2 separate regions of the Homo sapiens genome follow, and region 2 is linked to region 1. Evidence: promoter capture Hi-C in 16 types of primary human blood cells and fetal thymus (Javierre and others, 2016). All regions are on one chromosome and are shown on one strand. Each heading gives the region's core, a stretch centred on a gene start or on the middle of the fragment in contact. The rest is flanking DNA. Distances are from core to core; before and after follow the strand shown. Region 1 holds the start of SMURF2 (SMAD specific E3 ubiquitin protein ligase 2). Region 2 has its middle 44 kb from the start of TEX2.

Region 1 (7,286 bases), core at 2,011-4,510:
TTACACCTGAATGTATATAATTGATTTTACCTAAGATTCCCATCCCTTAATTTTCCGTCTTATCTTTCCCAAGTTCCGGCTATTAATTTGGTAATTCCCTACATGTTGTCATTATAATGTATATATATCCCCCTTTGGGGACATAAACATATCCCCAAGGGAAGAGAAACACATAAACTTTTTTGTTTTTTTAAACTTTCTAACCCAATCGTCTCTGAAATCTGAGCCTGGACTAGATGAGGCCACTCACTTAAGAGAGGCCTTCAAAATGACTTTCCTATTATGAGTATTCTGTTTTTGAGTGCATTTGTTTTTTGAGGTAGGGTCTTACTCTGTTGCCCAGGCTGGAGTGCAATGGCATAATCATGGCTCACTGCAGCCTCAACCTCCTGGGCTCCAGTGATCCTCCCACCTTGGTCTCCCGAAGTGTGGGGATTACAGGTGTTAGCCACCACGCTCTGCCCCTGTTCTATGTTTTCATTTATTTTACTTCATTTTAAACATTTAGTTACTTTTAAATAAATGTTTACAGTCAATGTCAATATTTAAGATGGCAAGGAAAACAATAAAATGAACATCCATGTACCTGCTTAAAAAAATCATTACCAGTACATTGATTTTCTTTTTATTTTTGTGATAGTCTCAGTATGCTGCCCAGGATGGAATGCAGTGGCACTGGAATGCAGTGGTGTGATCACGGCTCACTGCAACCTTGACCTCCACAGGCTCAGGTGATCCTATCTCAGCCTCCTGAGTAGCTGGGCCTATAGGTGCAGGCCACCACTCCTGGCTAATGTTTTGTAGATACGGGGTTTTGCCATGTTGCCCAGGCTGGTTTCAAACTCCTGGGCTCAAGTGACTCCTCTGCCTCGGCCTCCCAAAGTGCTAGGATTACAGGCATGAGTCACCATGCCCAGCCCTTGAATGGTTTTAGTGTTATTCTTATCTGAATATTTGTTTTAAACAACAGGATTTAACCTTACAAGAAAGCCTAAATACAAACCTCTGCACGTTAACCCTATATACATTTTTCTATGCTGTCACTTACATTTTTTAATTTACTGCTTTCAACTTCAAAACAAGCAGTCTCCCCCAGGTCTCCCATGACGTTCTGAAATCCTAACTTCTATTACCTAATACAAGGCTACAAATTATGTTAGTTGGGTGGTTGGGAACAAAGCGTGCTGTAAAAATAAGGCAAATGTGTATGTGTACATTAGTTTGCTAAGTTTTTTGCCACTGTCTGCCCTCTTAAATTGTGGTAGCAGCTATTGTTCACATTGATTTCTATATATTTGTAGTACAAGGAAGCATTTCTAAAGGACCTTGTTCATTGCTTTGCACAAAATGGCCACTTAATATTTGTTGAATGAATTGCTGGCACTATCTCTGGTATTTTAATTTTTATTTATTTATGTATTTATTTTTGATATGGAGTCTCGCTCTGTCACCCAGGCTGAAGTGCAGTGGCGTGATCTCGGCTCACTGCAACCTCCCGTGTTCAAGCGATTCTCTTGCCTCAGCCTCCCTAATTGCTGGGACCACAGGCATGCGCCACCAGGCCCGGCTAATTTTTTTGTATTTTTTTTTAGTACAGACGGGGTTTCACCATGTTGGCCAGGCTGGTCTCAAACTCCTGACCTCAAATGATCCGCCCACCTCGGCCTCCCAAAGTGTTGGAATTACAGGCGTGAGCCACTGTGCCCGGCCTATCTGTGGTATTTTTAGTGTGATGTCTAGAACTTCATATACTTTTTTGGATTACTTTTAATTGTAGGGCTGTATCCAAACTGATGAAATGTTCTCGCAGGTAACTATCTGGAGAAGTGAGTTCACTGATGTATTAAAAGAAATGACTGGCATGGAATAAGGATTAAAATATATTAATCCAAAACATTTAAAATTGCATTAATGTTATAATAGCCTAAAGCAAAACTAACGAATCACATAAAAAATCCCCCACGCTATTGTCCTTAGTAGTTTACATTGTGCTAGATACTTTCGCATGTATATGCATACAACTTCTATTCTGTTTTTAAACTTTGCATTACATATACATTCTTCCATATTATATGATCTTCATAAAAATAGTTACATGGCTGCATAAAAAACCATGCGGTTCCTGGACTATTATGCTATTCCCTCATTCCCCTTTTGTTATTAATGGAATATAGCAAAGAACATCTTCTGTACGATTATTTGTCAAGAATAGGGCCGGTGCGGTGGCTCAGGTCTGTAATCCCAGCACTTTGGGAGGCCGAGGCGGGCTGATCGCTTGAGGTCAGGAGTTCGTGACCAGCCTGGGCAACATGGGAAAACCTAAACGTCTCTACTAAACATGTCTCTACTAAAAATACAAAAATTAGTGGGGCGTAGTGGTGCACACTGTGGTCTCAGCTACTCCAGAGGCTCAGGTGGGAGGATCACCTGAGCCCCGGAAGTTGAGACTGCAGTGAGCCGTGTTCGCACCACTGCACTCCAGCCTGGGCGACAGAGGGAGACCCTGTCTAAAAACAAAAAAATAAAAAATAAATTTCTAGCAGTACAGTTACAATGTCAAAGGATAAGGTACACATTTTTTAAAAACTTTTCTCTTTCTCCTCCTGAGATAACGAAATACAGTAGCGTATGAACAACTCTTCATACATTACTCTCCAAGGTTTATCTTGTTAATCCTTTAAGACGTATCATCTCCCCATCCTTGGCTGCACCTGAAAAGAGCGGGAGTCGGCAGGTAACCTGATCTCCTCCACCAGGTGAGTCCCGGATGGAGGTGTCAACTACAAGACCAGGAGCAGAGCATTCCTGGGGTTTTGCTGGAACCATCGGCGTGGGAATGCTTTCTCTTCCCTCGCCCGAAAGACGCCAAGTTCCCGGCAGGCAGCGGACTCGGTTCTAACCTTCCTCGCCCCAGCCTCTCGGAGCGCCCTGCACGCAGTGGGCGTCTAATAAAATGCAGTTGGCCCTGCTTGGACAAAAGTTCTCCCTTAAGTGGCCCGGACAGTAAACCCCTCCAGGTGCCACAGAGCTGCCGCGCCCGCCGCCGCTTTGCTCCCTGCCTGCTCCCTCCCAGCGTTCCGCGTGGGACCCTCGGCGGCAGCTCACACCCTCCCTGACTGCCGGTGCCCGCCAGGGCACCCTGCGCGCGCCCGCCGGCCCCGCCCCGGCCCCGCCCCGCCCCGCCGGCCCCGCCTCCCGTCTCCTCCCCGCCCCCCGGAGCCGACGAGTGGCGGCGGCGGCCCCAGGTCCCGGGTCCCTCAGACAAGAGGGCGGGTGGAGGAGGAAGCGGCCGAGCCCAGAGTTCTGCTCCGGCGCCCCCGAGCACCGCCCGCTTCAGCCGACCAGCCCCGTCGGCTACTGGGCCTCGCCGAGACGAGAGGAGGGAAAGGCCTCGGCGGCCGCGAGGAGGCGGCGGGGGCGCGGGCGGAGGCGGCGCGGGCGGCCGCGGCTGCCGCTTTGTTGTGCGGCCCGGGCCGAGGAAGGAGAAGTGGGAGGAGGGGGGAGCTCGGCGTCCCGCTCCCTCCGCGGCTCATGGCGACGACTCTCGGCACATCCGGGACCCTCCGGCCGTGGCGGCCGAGGCGCCGGCTGCTCGGGCCCCAGCCCCGGCCGCTGTGGTGACTCCGCCGCGCCTCGCCGTCGCCCCCGTGCCGCCCGCCGCCCCCGCCGCCCCCGCCGCCGGGGACATGTCTAACCCCGGAGGCCGGAGGAACGGGCCCGTCAAGCTGCGCCTGACAGGTGAGGGGGGGCGGCGGGCCGGGCTGGGCAGCCGCGGGGTGGGCGAGCTGGCGGGGGGTGCCTGTGGCCTTGGGAAGGGCCAGGGTCGCGATCAATGATGAGTTGGGGGTCGGAGGAATGGGAAGGCCTAGTTCAGGGAGAGTAATTGGAAAACCACTTGCTCTGGTTTGGACATTGTTTAAAAAGCCGAGGATGACTCGGGGCGGGGGGTGGTGTTTTGTGGAGGGGAGAATACACCGGTTCGCATCGCAGGCGGATTTCAGGTCGGAAAGTCTTGGTCAAGGAGCCAGACGCTGCCTCCCGGGGCTCGGGGAACAGCCCCTGGGCTACCGCCCAGGTGAGATCGTGAAGGGGATGAAGAGCTCCCGTGGCGAGGATTATTGAATCCGGTTGCTGACTGCGCGCAGTAAACACTCCTTAAAGATGGAGCGCTTAACGGGAGGGTGTGCGTGTGTGTTCCCGGGTTGTTACCTTGCACACACCCAGTTATGCCCGCATGAAAAACCTTTACTCCCCGCCGCCGGCCACCGCTGCCCGGGCCACACACCTTAAACTCATGTCTCTGAGGTGAGGAGACAGGTTGACTTTTCCGGTGTGCCTGTCTGATCCGACGGCTTGGGCTCATTGTACACTGTGTTTTGGAAGTGTCTGATTGTAGGGTGGCATGTTTGGGGTTGTTCCTTTTAGGCCGCAGAACTTGTGTCTAACTTCTAACGCCAGACCTGCTTTAAAAACACACTTTTTTGGGGGGGGTGCATTGCTAAGTATGTGCTCATACAAACTTTCGAGCAAACTTTCTGTTACTCTCCCCACCCTCCCCATTCCTTTTTCGAAATGGAAAAGAATGTCCGGAGGGGTTGCCAGATAGAAGACTACACTTACAAAGTGTTTATGATTCCAGGTGCATGAAATCTTTAACATTACAGGTACGTTTTGCTTACAGTGCCATTTTTGGTATTCTTACATGGACATGCCACCCCCGTTTTAGGAGAACTTTTATTTGGTTTGTAAAGGAATTGGAATCACGGCGTTATCCTACCTTCACCATTTACCCCTGATAAATTGTCCACGTTTGTATTCGGGTGAGTGGTGAGAAAGATAATTTTCCGTAGAGGATTTGTGTGTGCGTGCACGTGTACGGATAAACTGTAATTATGTTTGCCCACACTAGACTTTGAGATTTATTTGGACTAATTTTGTAGTTAAATGCCTGTGTGTCACATCCCAGTCCACTGGCTGAACTTGCTGGATGAAAACTTGCAGTGAATTTGGTATTTGAGAATTTAGCTTGAATGTATGTTGGCTGCAATTTAAATAATATATTACTTTCATGGCAGTTTTCCTTTCCCTAGGGAAAATTGCAGGGAATCATTAACTGAGTGATTCTTAATGGAAAACCTGGATTGGAGGATACTTGTATTCCACCCCCTCCCCCCTCATTCAGTGTCCTTACATTGGGAGGAGTCAGTGGAAACCTTTATAGGGGATCTTTGTTGCTTTAGAGTTTATCTGTTGCTGTTGCTGTCTGTAGTCAGTGATCGTGGAAAGAACATGTGATCCCAGGTGTGCAGAAAGCATCAGAAATAGGCTGTTTCCATTTACCCTCCTCTGGGCTATGTAGAGAAAATGAGGGAAAAAATTGGGTTTTTGATTTTCTGCAGATAAGGTTAGTTGAGGTTTTTAGTATGACTTAATAGATCTTAAAGTGTTTATCTGTGGTTTCCGTACTGCCTATGATACATTATAAGAATTTATAATTAAAGTTTATTAAGAGGAAAGATTATGCTTATATTTTAGGGGAAGGGGGAATATTGAACTACATTTATAGTGATTTTGTTTCAGGTTTTTCTGAGGAATTTTAAATACCCTGTGTCCTCTTAATAGTAAAAACAGTTTGAGGTACTCTGAGTTTCTTACAACTATTTGTCTCTGAATAGTTTTCTCTTAAAATTTGACAAATATTAAAAACATTGTCCTTCCTTCTTTGGTTACAGTGGAGTCTCTTCTGTTTTGCCAGGAAAGTTAACATATTTTTTCTTCCATTTTTGTTCATCATTTATAAATTAGATGGTATAGATTTTAGCAAATAGATCTCAAGAGCTGGATTCAATTAGCAGCTTTTTAGGACATAAACATTAAAGGGTTAGATGGAAAAGATTGTTTTGACTGACTGGATAAATGACAGGGCTGTGTTTGATGTGCGTCCAGGAATTGGTCTGGAGCTGGTGCCCAACTTCTCAGTCCATCTTGAGAAGCCAAATAAAATATTTAACCTAGGCCTCATTTTGTTTAAAAAAAAAAAAAAAAAAAAAGTTGATTCTTTGTGAAGACCTTAAGAAATGTTTGGCATACCTTTAGACTAAGTGTTTAACAGTTCATTTAGATCTGGGTTGCCTAATAGAGGAAAAAAAATCACTTAAAAAAAGACAGATCCCACAGTGAATTTATATTTGGTTTACAATACACTTGGGCTATAAGGTGTTTTAAAATTATTGTTCTTTGCTTTAAGTTAATACCATATTAGTATTTTAAATTTATAGAGTACCTTTGATTTCAAGATGCTGTATAAACTTTAGTTACTTGATAATAACTTTATTGTGGAATTGCCCCTTTGCTGAAAGGTATAAACATTTCTTACATGGTGATGCACACACTCACACACACACACTCACACACTCATACACACTCTCTCTGAAGAAGAGGAAATATTTAAGCCATGAGATCTCTGCCCACAATTGATATTAAACCTTTCCACATATTATTCTTAAAACCACAATCAGTGAACTGTTTGGTATTTGTCAATGCTAAGAAGGTGGGGCTAATTTAATAATTTGATCCCAAATTTTAGATTCCTCAGGCAGTTGGGGGTTAGAATCTGATTTCATCCATCAAGCTACTTCTGTTCTTTATGACACATTAACATATGATCATTGAAATGGGCTGTATGGTAACACTATCAACTTCAACTACTGTTTCTATAACATTGATTACAAAATGTATAATGTCTATATCATTATACTTATATCTGATACAGGCTTTTCTTTCAATGGTTTGGATAGAAAAATATTCTTTACAGTAAAAACTTTGGGATAATTTTTTATACCATTATTGTTTCTGAAAACCAAAGGCTGGAAAAAGCAGTTTAGTGTAATTTCTAATATTTTAAATTCTTAGGTATGGAGAAGCAGAATAAGATTACTCCTCCAGAACATTTGTTTCAGACCTTTTTATACATTTAATGTTTTTGTATGCTGCTTCTCATGTTATTAATTTCAAAGCCCTTGGCAATAAGGAGGTTAACCTTGTCTATAATGTAAGGAAGTTTAACTTTAAAAATTTCCCTTTAGATATGCTAGCGTCTTAATCTTGTTTCACTACATATTTTATCGATTCAAGGCTTTAAAAATTGTAGCTTAATTCTATTTCACAGGTTTTTAAGTATGCCTATACATCATAATGACTTTATTTATTTATTTTTTGAGTTGGAGTTTCACTCTTGACTGGAGTTGAAGGGCTTGATCTCGGCCCACTGCAACCTCCACCTCCCG
Region 2 (7,286 bases), core at 2,739-5,238, 350 kb after region 1:
CAGAAAAACATGCCCTAGAAAATCTTTAAATTGAAATAATAATAATAATAAAAGACAAGGGGTCTAAAAGAAAAATTGTATTGACATTTATTAAAATATATTAGTTAATATTCATAGGATGTTCTGAGGCTCTGTAAAAGAACTAGGTTTTTGAAAAGGCTTCAGCAGAAGTCAGTAATTGTCCCTGCTCTGCAGTGGAGGACAACTTCCTAGTGGCCAGAAAAGGTGAATTTGCTGGATGTGCAGTCAGAGTTTAATGATAAACTCTGGCAAAGACTTTATGCAACTTGGCCGGGCACGGTGGCTCACGCCTGTAATCCCAGCACTTTGGGAGGCTGAGGCGGGCAGATCACTTGAGGTCAGGAGTTTGAGACCAGCTTGGCCAACATGGCAAAACCCCATCTCTACTAAAAATACAAAAATTAGCCGGGCGTGGTGGTGCATGCCTGAAATCCCAGCTACTCAGGAGGCTGAGGGGGGAGAATCGCTTGAACCCGGGAGGCGGAGGTTGCAGTGAGCCGAGAGACGCCACTGCACTCCAGCCTGGGTGACAGAGCGAGACTCTATCTCAGAAACACAAAAAAGACTTTATGTAACTTGAAGAAACAGAGCTGGCTTCCCCTCTGGTCTCTGTGCTCTTCCCCTCTGCCTTAGAGATAGCTGGGCCTGGGGAGTTCCAGGCAGAGAGTCAGCAAAGGAAAGAGGAGAAGGTTTATAGTAGAAACTCAATAAACATTTGTTGATGTATTCAACAAATCCAAACCATGAGTTGCCTGTGGTTTAATGTTTGTCAAAGATTTGAGACGTTGGTGGATAATTACAGAAGATATTCCTAGACATGTTTATTCTAGATTCTTTAGTTTTCATCTTCATTTTCAGTTGGATCATCACAATATAATTCACCTGAACCATAAGAACTATAATGTGTTTTTCTGTTTGTTTGTTTGTTTGTTTTGAGACAGGGTCTCGTTCTGTCACCCAGGCTAGAGTTCAGTGGTGTGATCTTGGCTCATTGCAACGTCCACCTCCTGGGTTCAAGCGATTCTCATGCCTCAGCCTCCCAGGTAGCTGGGATCACAGACTCATGCCACCAGGCCTGGCTAATTTTTGTAATTTTAGCAGAGACAGGGTTTCACCATGTTGGCCAGGCTGGTCTCGAATTCCTGGCCTCAAGTGATCCACCTGCCTTGGCCTCCCAAAGTGCTGAGATTACAGGCATGAGCCACCATGCCCAGCCTATAATGTGATTTAATATTATACCCTTAGTCTTTGCAGATAAAACAACAATGTTCTTCAACCATGACTTTGGGTTTTTTTGGTAAACATTGTCCAATGTGAGGCCAAAGGGATATTACACAGGGTTCTCCAGGACCAGGTTCCTCCTGGATGTGAGTCCCTGCGGAGCACTCAGTCTTCCTTAGCTCAGACAAGGAACGTTATGGAGTCCCACGTGCTTCCCGTTTAACCTCAGCTGCCAGAGGACTCAGAGCCAAATTCTGCCCCCATTAGAGTAATTAACTATGATCTAGTGCCTGTTAGGCTGACTCCCTCTTCCTTTAGATGATATCTCTTCCATTTGGACTCCTAACTGTTCCATTCTATATTACCTCTCATCTTGTCCACTGCTTCAGATCCTTTGGGGAAAATACCTAACACAAATTAAAAAATAAAATAAAATTAGAGCTTAGAAAATTAACTGATAGAAACCAGTCCGGCTTTTAGATTGTATTCATTTAGAAGAATAAGAAGAATATTCCCACAGTCTATGTGACCCTGGGCAAATCTTCGTCTTGCCCAGAGACCTAGGGCTCCTTTCTTCATCAATGAAATGAGGGGATTGGACTCTGTTATCTTGAAGGTCCTTTTAAGCTTCATTCATTCAGCAAATATTTCATATGCACCTACTATGTGCAGACACTGTTCTAAGTGCTCAGAAAATATCAGTGAAGACAATAGACAGACAAAGATCCCTTCCCTCATGGAAGTTAGATTCTAGCAGGGGGAGACAGAAATGAACAATAAACGCAGGAGGTAGATTATATGATATGTGAGAAGGTGGAGAAGGCTGGAGGAAACAAAGAATCAAGCAAGTTAAGGGAGGGTGTGAGGGGGTGGGGGAGGCAGCAGTGTTTAATAAGGATGTCTGGGTGAGCCTCATCAAGAAAGTGAATTTTCACTTTGACAGGCCAAGGTGGGTGGATCACTTCAGCTCAGGAGTTTGAAACCAGCCTGGGCAACATGGCAAAACCCCGTCTCCACAAAAAATACAAAAATTAGCTGGGCATGGTGATGCATGCCTGTAGTCCCAGCTACTATGGAGACTTGGGAGGATCAATTGAGCCCAGGAGGTTGAGGCTATAGTGAGCCATGATCACGCCATTGTATGCCAGCCTGGGTGACAGAGCAAGACCCTGTTTCAAAAACAAAACACAAACAAAAAAGAAAGGTTTGAGCTAAGAACTTGCAGGAGACAAGGAAATTAGTCAAGCAGAAGGATATCTGGGGGAATGGCATGCGAGGCAGAAGGGAAAGCTAGGGTCGAGGCCCTCTGGGAAAGAAGCAAGGCCAAGGGGCTGGAGTAGAGGGAGGAAGAGGGGAAGTAGTGGAAGATGAGACTAGCTTTACTACTGATTATGATGTAAGAATAGTGGCCAATTTCCTTTCCAACTTGGGCCCGGCAGAATGGCTCCTGCAAAGAAGGGTGATGAGAAGAAGAAGGGTCATTCCGCCATCAACGAGATGGTGACCCGAGAATACCCCATCAACATTCATAAGTGCATTCATGGAGTGGGCTTCAAGAAGCGTTCCCCTCAGGCACTCAAAGAGCTCCGGAAACTTGCCCTGAAGGAGATGGGAACTCCAGATGCACACTTTGATACCAGGCTCAACAAAGCTGTCTGGGCCAAAGGAATAAGCAACGTCTCATACTGTATCCATGTTCGGTTGTCCAGAAAATGTAATGAAGATAAAGATTTACCAAACAAGCTCTATACTTCGGTTGCCTACGTACCTGTTACCACTTTAAAAAAATCTACAGTCGGTGTGAATGTGAACTAACTGCTAATCATCAAATATACCAAATAAAGTTATAAAATTGTTTTTTGTTTGTTTGTTTGTTTGTTTTTTGGGGGGGTGGGATAGAATCTTGCTCTGTCACCCAGGCTGGACCACAGTGGCGTGATTTTGGCTCACTGCAACCCCCACCTCCCGGGTTCAAGCAATTCTCCTACCTCAGCCTCCCTTGTAGCTGGGACTGCAGGCATGCACCACCATGCCCAGCTAATTTTGGTATCTTTAGTACAGATGGGGTTTCAGCACGTTGGCCAGGCTGGCCTCAAACTCCTGACCTCAAGTGATCTGTCCGCCTTGACCTCCTAAAGCGCTGGGATTAGAGGCATGAGCCACTGTGGGGGCCAAAATTGTTTAAATATATATATATATATATATATATATATATATATATATATATATATATATATATATAATAGTGGCCAGGCATGATGGCTCATGCCTGTAATCCCAGCACTTTGGGAGGTCAAGGCGCTTTGGGAGGGCAAGATGGGAGGATCCCTTGAGCCCAGGAGTTCGAGACCAGCCTGGGGAACATACAGAGATCCTGTCTCCAAAAAAATGTTTTAAATTAGCCAGGTGGAGTGGTGCATGCTTGTGATCCCAGCTACTCAGGAGGCTGAAGCAGGGGGATCACCTGAGCCTCAGGGGTCAAGGCTGCAGTGAGCCGTGATGGCTCCACTGCACTCCAGCCTGGGCAACAGAGTGAGATTTTGTCTCAAGAACAGAAGCCACTAATTGTAAATAGATTATAGTTCTTCATAGGCTTGTTCTAAACCCCTGCTACTCAAAGCGTGCTCTTCAAATCAGCAGCATCACAATCACTTGGCCATTGTTAGAAATGCAGAACCTTGGCCAGGACAACGGCTCATGCCTGTAATACCAGCACTTTGGGAGGCTGAGGTGGGAGGATCGCTTGAGCGCAGGAGTTTGAGGCTGCAGTCAGCCGTGATCACGCCACAGCACTCCAGCCTGGCTGGCAGAGTGAGACCCTGTCTCAAAAAAAAAAAAAAAGAAAGAATCTTGGGACCCATTACAGGTCTACGAAACTATAATCCTAATTAGCAAGATCCCCAGATTATGGAAAAGACACCACGTGCCTTTATAAATATATGGGCACTGCCAACATCATATGCTTTACCAAATAACAGCCTTAGTTGATTGAGACAAAACGAGTTTTCTTGCCTTAAGTTGCCCTTTCACAAGGGTTTTTGAGGACCAGGACCTACCAAGTGCGCCACCTGGTGGCAGCACAGATAAAATTTACACTCTAGGACCAAGATCACGTGTAGAATTCAAATAGCATAAAGTAATTATAGTTTTAACACAATTGGCTTGGACTTTTCAAAAATATCCATGTCAGAAAAGATCAAAATGGTCTGAAAAACTGCTCTAGATTAAAAGAGACCAAAGGGTCTGAACCGCTAAATGCAATCTGTTCAAAAAGCTATTCAAGGGCAGGCACGGTGGCTCATGTCTGTAATCCCAGCACTTTGGGAGGCCAAGGTGGGTGGATCACCTGAGGTCAGGAGTTTGAGACCAGTCTGACCAACATGGTGAAACCCTGTCTCTATTAAAAATACAAAAATTAGCCAGGCATGGTGACAGGCGCCTGTAATCCCAGCTACTCGGGAGACTAAGGCAGGAGAATTGCTTGAACCCAGGAGGCAGAGATTGCAGTGAGCCAAGATCGTGCCACTGCACTCTAGCCTGGGCAACAGAGCGAGACTCCATCTCAAAAAAAAAAAAAAAAAAAAAGCTAGTCAAGTACATAATTGGGCCAATTGGGAAAATTGAATATGGAATATATATCACAATATAGTATTAATGTTAAATTTCTTTCTTTCTTTTTTTTTGAAACAGTGTCTTGCTCTGTCATCCAGGCTGGAGTGCAGTGGCATGATGGTGGCTCACCGCAGCCTCAACCTCCTGGGCTCAAGCAATCTTTCCACCTCAGCCTCCGAGTAGCTGGGACCACAGGTGTGCGTCACCATGTCTGGCTAATTTTTTGTAAGTTTTGTACAGACAAAATTTCGCCATATTGCCCAGGCTGGTCTCAAACTCCTGGGTTCAAGTGATCCACCTGCCTCAGCCTCCCATAGTGCTGGGATTACAGGCATGAGCCACTGTGCTTAGCCTAATGTTAAATTTCTCAAGCATGGTAATATACTGTAATTATATAGAATGTCCTCATTCTTAGGGGATACATGGTGAAGTAATATTAGAAATATGATGCCTGCAACTAACTTTCAAAATATTTAGCAAACATTGAAATAATTTTTTTTTTTGAGAGGAAGTCTCACTCTGTTGCCCAGGCTGGAGTGCAGTGGTGTGTTCTCGGCTCACTGCAACGTCCGCCTCCTGGGTTCAAGCAATTCTCCTGCCTCAGCCTCCCGAGTAGCTGGGATTACAGGCGCGCACCACCATGCCTGGCTAAATTTGTATTTTTAGTAGAGACGGGGTTTCACCGTGTTGGTCAGGCTGGTCTTGAACTCCTGACCTCAAGTGATCCACCTGCCTCGGCCTCCCAAAGTGCTGGGATTATAGGCGTGAGCCATCGTGGCTGGCCAGAATAATTTTTTTGAGACAGGATCTCACTCTGTTGCCCAGGCTGGAGCACAGTGGTGAGATCTTGGCTCACTGCAATTTCAACCTCCCTGGCTCAAGTGATACTCCCACCTCAGCCTCCTGAGTAGCGGGTCCACAGGCACATACCACCATGCCTGGCTACTTTTTGTATTTTTTATAGAGACAGGGTTTCGCCCAGGCTGCCCAGGCTGGTCTCGAACTCCTGGCCTCAAGTGATCTGCCTACCTTGGGCTCCCAAAGTGTTGGAATTATAGCCATGAGCCACCACACCCAGCCAAAAATTAAAATAATTTTTAAAAAATGTTTGCGTGTGTGTGTGTATGTGTGTGTGTACAAACACAGAGGAGGAGAGATAAAGCAAATGGGCAAAATGCTAGCAACAAATGAATCTAGGTGAAGGATATACAAGTGTTCATTGTACTATTTCTTGTAACTTTTCTGAAAGCTTGAAATTTTCAAAATTAAAAAAAGGAGGCGGGCACAGTGGCTCACACCTGTGATCCCAACACTTTGGGAGGCTGAGGCAGGCGGATTACCTAAGGTCAGGAGTTGGAGACCAGCCTGGCCAACATGGTGAAACCCCATCTCTACTAAAAATACAAAAATTAGCAGAGTATGGTGGTGGGCACCTGTAATCCCAGCTACTCAAGAGGCTGAGGCATGAGAATCGCTTGAACCCAGGAGGCGGAGGTTGCAGTGAGCCGAGATCACACCACTGCACTCCAGCCTGGGCGACAGAGCAAGACTCAGTCTCAAAAAAAAAGAAGGGAGTATCACTTTTGGATACACTTTAAGTTGCAAGGAACTACTTAAGAAGGAGCCCTAGGATGTGTGGATCAGGCAGAAACAGCTGAAGTAAACTTGAATCCCAACTCAACGCTTATCTCTGTTTCTCTGGCTTATTGTTCTTGAGAGGTTAAAGATCAAACCTGTGAGTAGATAGAAAACTGAAGAGTTGATGTCCTACCTCTCTGGGCTGTGGAAGGAATGGAGGTGGGAAATCAGACACCTGTTTAAAAACAGAAAGGGCCGGGTGTGCTGGCATTTGCCTATAATCCCAGATGCTTGGGAGGCTGAGGCAGGACAATCACTGAGCCCAGGAGTTCAAGACCCTGTCTCAAATAAAAGGTAATTTTTTTTCTTTTTTTTTTTTTTTGAGAAGGAGTCTCGCACTGTCACACAGGCTGGAGTGCAGTGGCACGATTTCGGCTCACTGCAACCTCCGCCTCCTGGGTTCAAATGGTTCCCCTGCCTCAGCCTCCCGAGTAGCTAGGATTACAGGCTTGAGCCACCAAGCCTGGCTAATTTTTGTATTTTTAGTAGAGACGAGGTTTCACCATGTTGACCAGGCTGGTCTCGAACTCCCGACTTCAGGTGATTCACCCGCCTCAGCCTCCCAAAGTGCTGGGATTACAGGCGTGAGCCACCGTGCCCAGCAAAAGATTTTTTTTTTAAGAAAAAAAAAAAAAAGGTGGCTTACACCTGTAATCCCAGCACTTTGGGAGGCCGAGGTGGGTGGATTGCTTGAGCTCAGGAGTTTGAGACCAGCCTGGGCAACATGGCAAAATTTTGTCTCTACGAAAAATACAAAAATTAGCTGGGCATGGTGGTAGGTGCCTGTGGTCCCA

Evidence for each region. Contacts are between HindIII fragments. The CHiCAGO score rates a contact against its expected background, and 5 or more counts as called.
Region 2: a contact is called between a fragment that was not itself captured here and the fragment with the promoter of SMURF2 in region 1, in 1 of 17 cell types (total CD4 T cells). The highest score is 5.4, in total CD4 T cells.

The regions. Positions count from the first base shown.
Region 1 is chr17:64,658,281-64,665,566 of GRCh38, reverse strand. SMURF2 (SMAD specific E3 ubiquitin protein ligase 2) reads left to right here and starts at 3,260. Exons shown (of 19, transcript NM_022739.4): 1 at 3,260-3,738. The coding sequence starts at 3,687. RefSeq lists an enhancer at 2,408-2,966 and silencers at 3,117-3,516, 3,567-3,766. The HindIII fragment of the contact is 18,568 bases long and covers 1-7,286 here.
Region 2 is chr17:64,304,087-64,311,372 of GRCh38, reverse strand. It overlaps the pseudogene RPL31P57. Among named protein-coding and RNA genes, the nearest start is that of TEX2, 44 kb to the right of the region's middle. The HindIII fragment of the contact is 4,234 bases long and covers 1,872-6,105 here.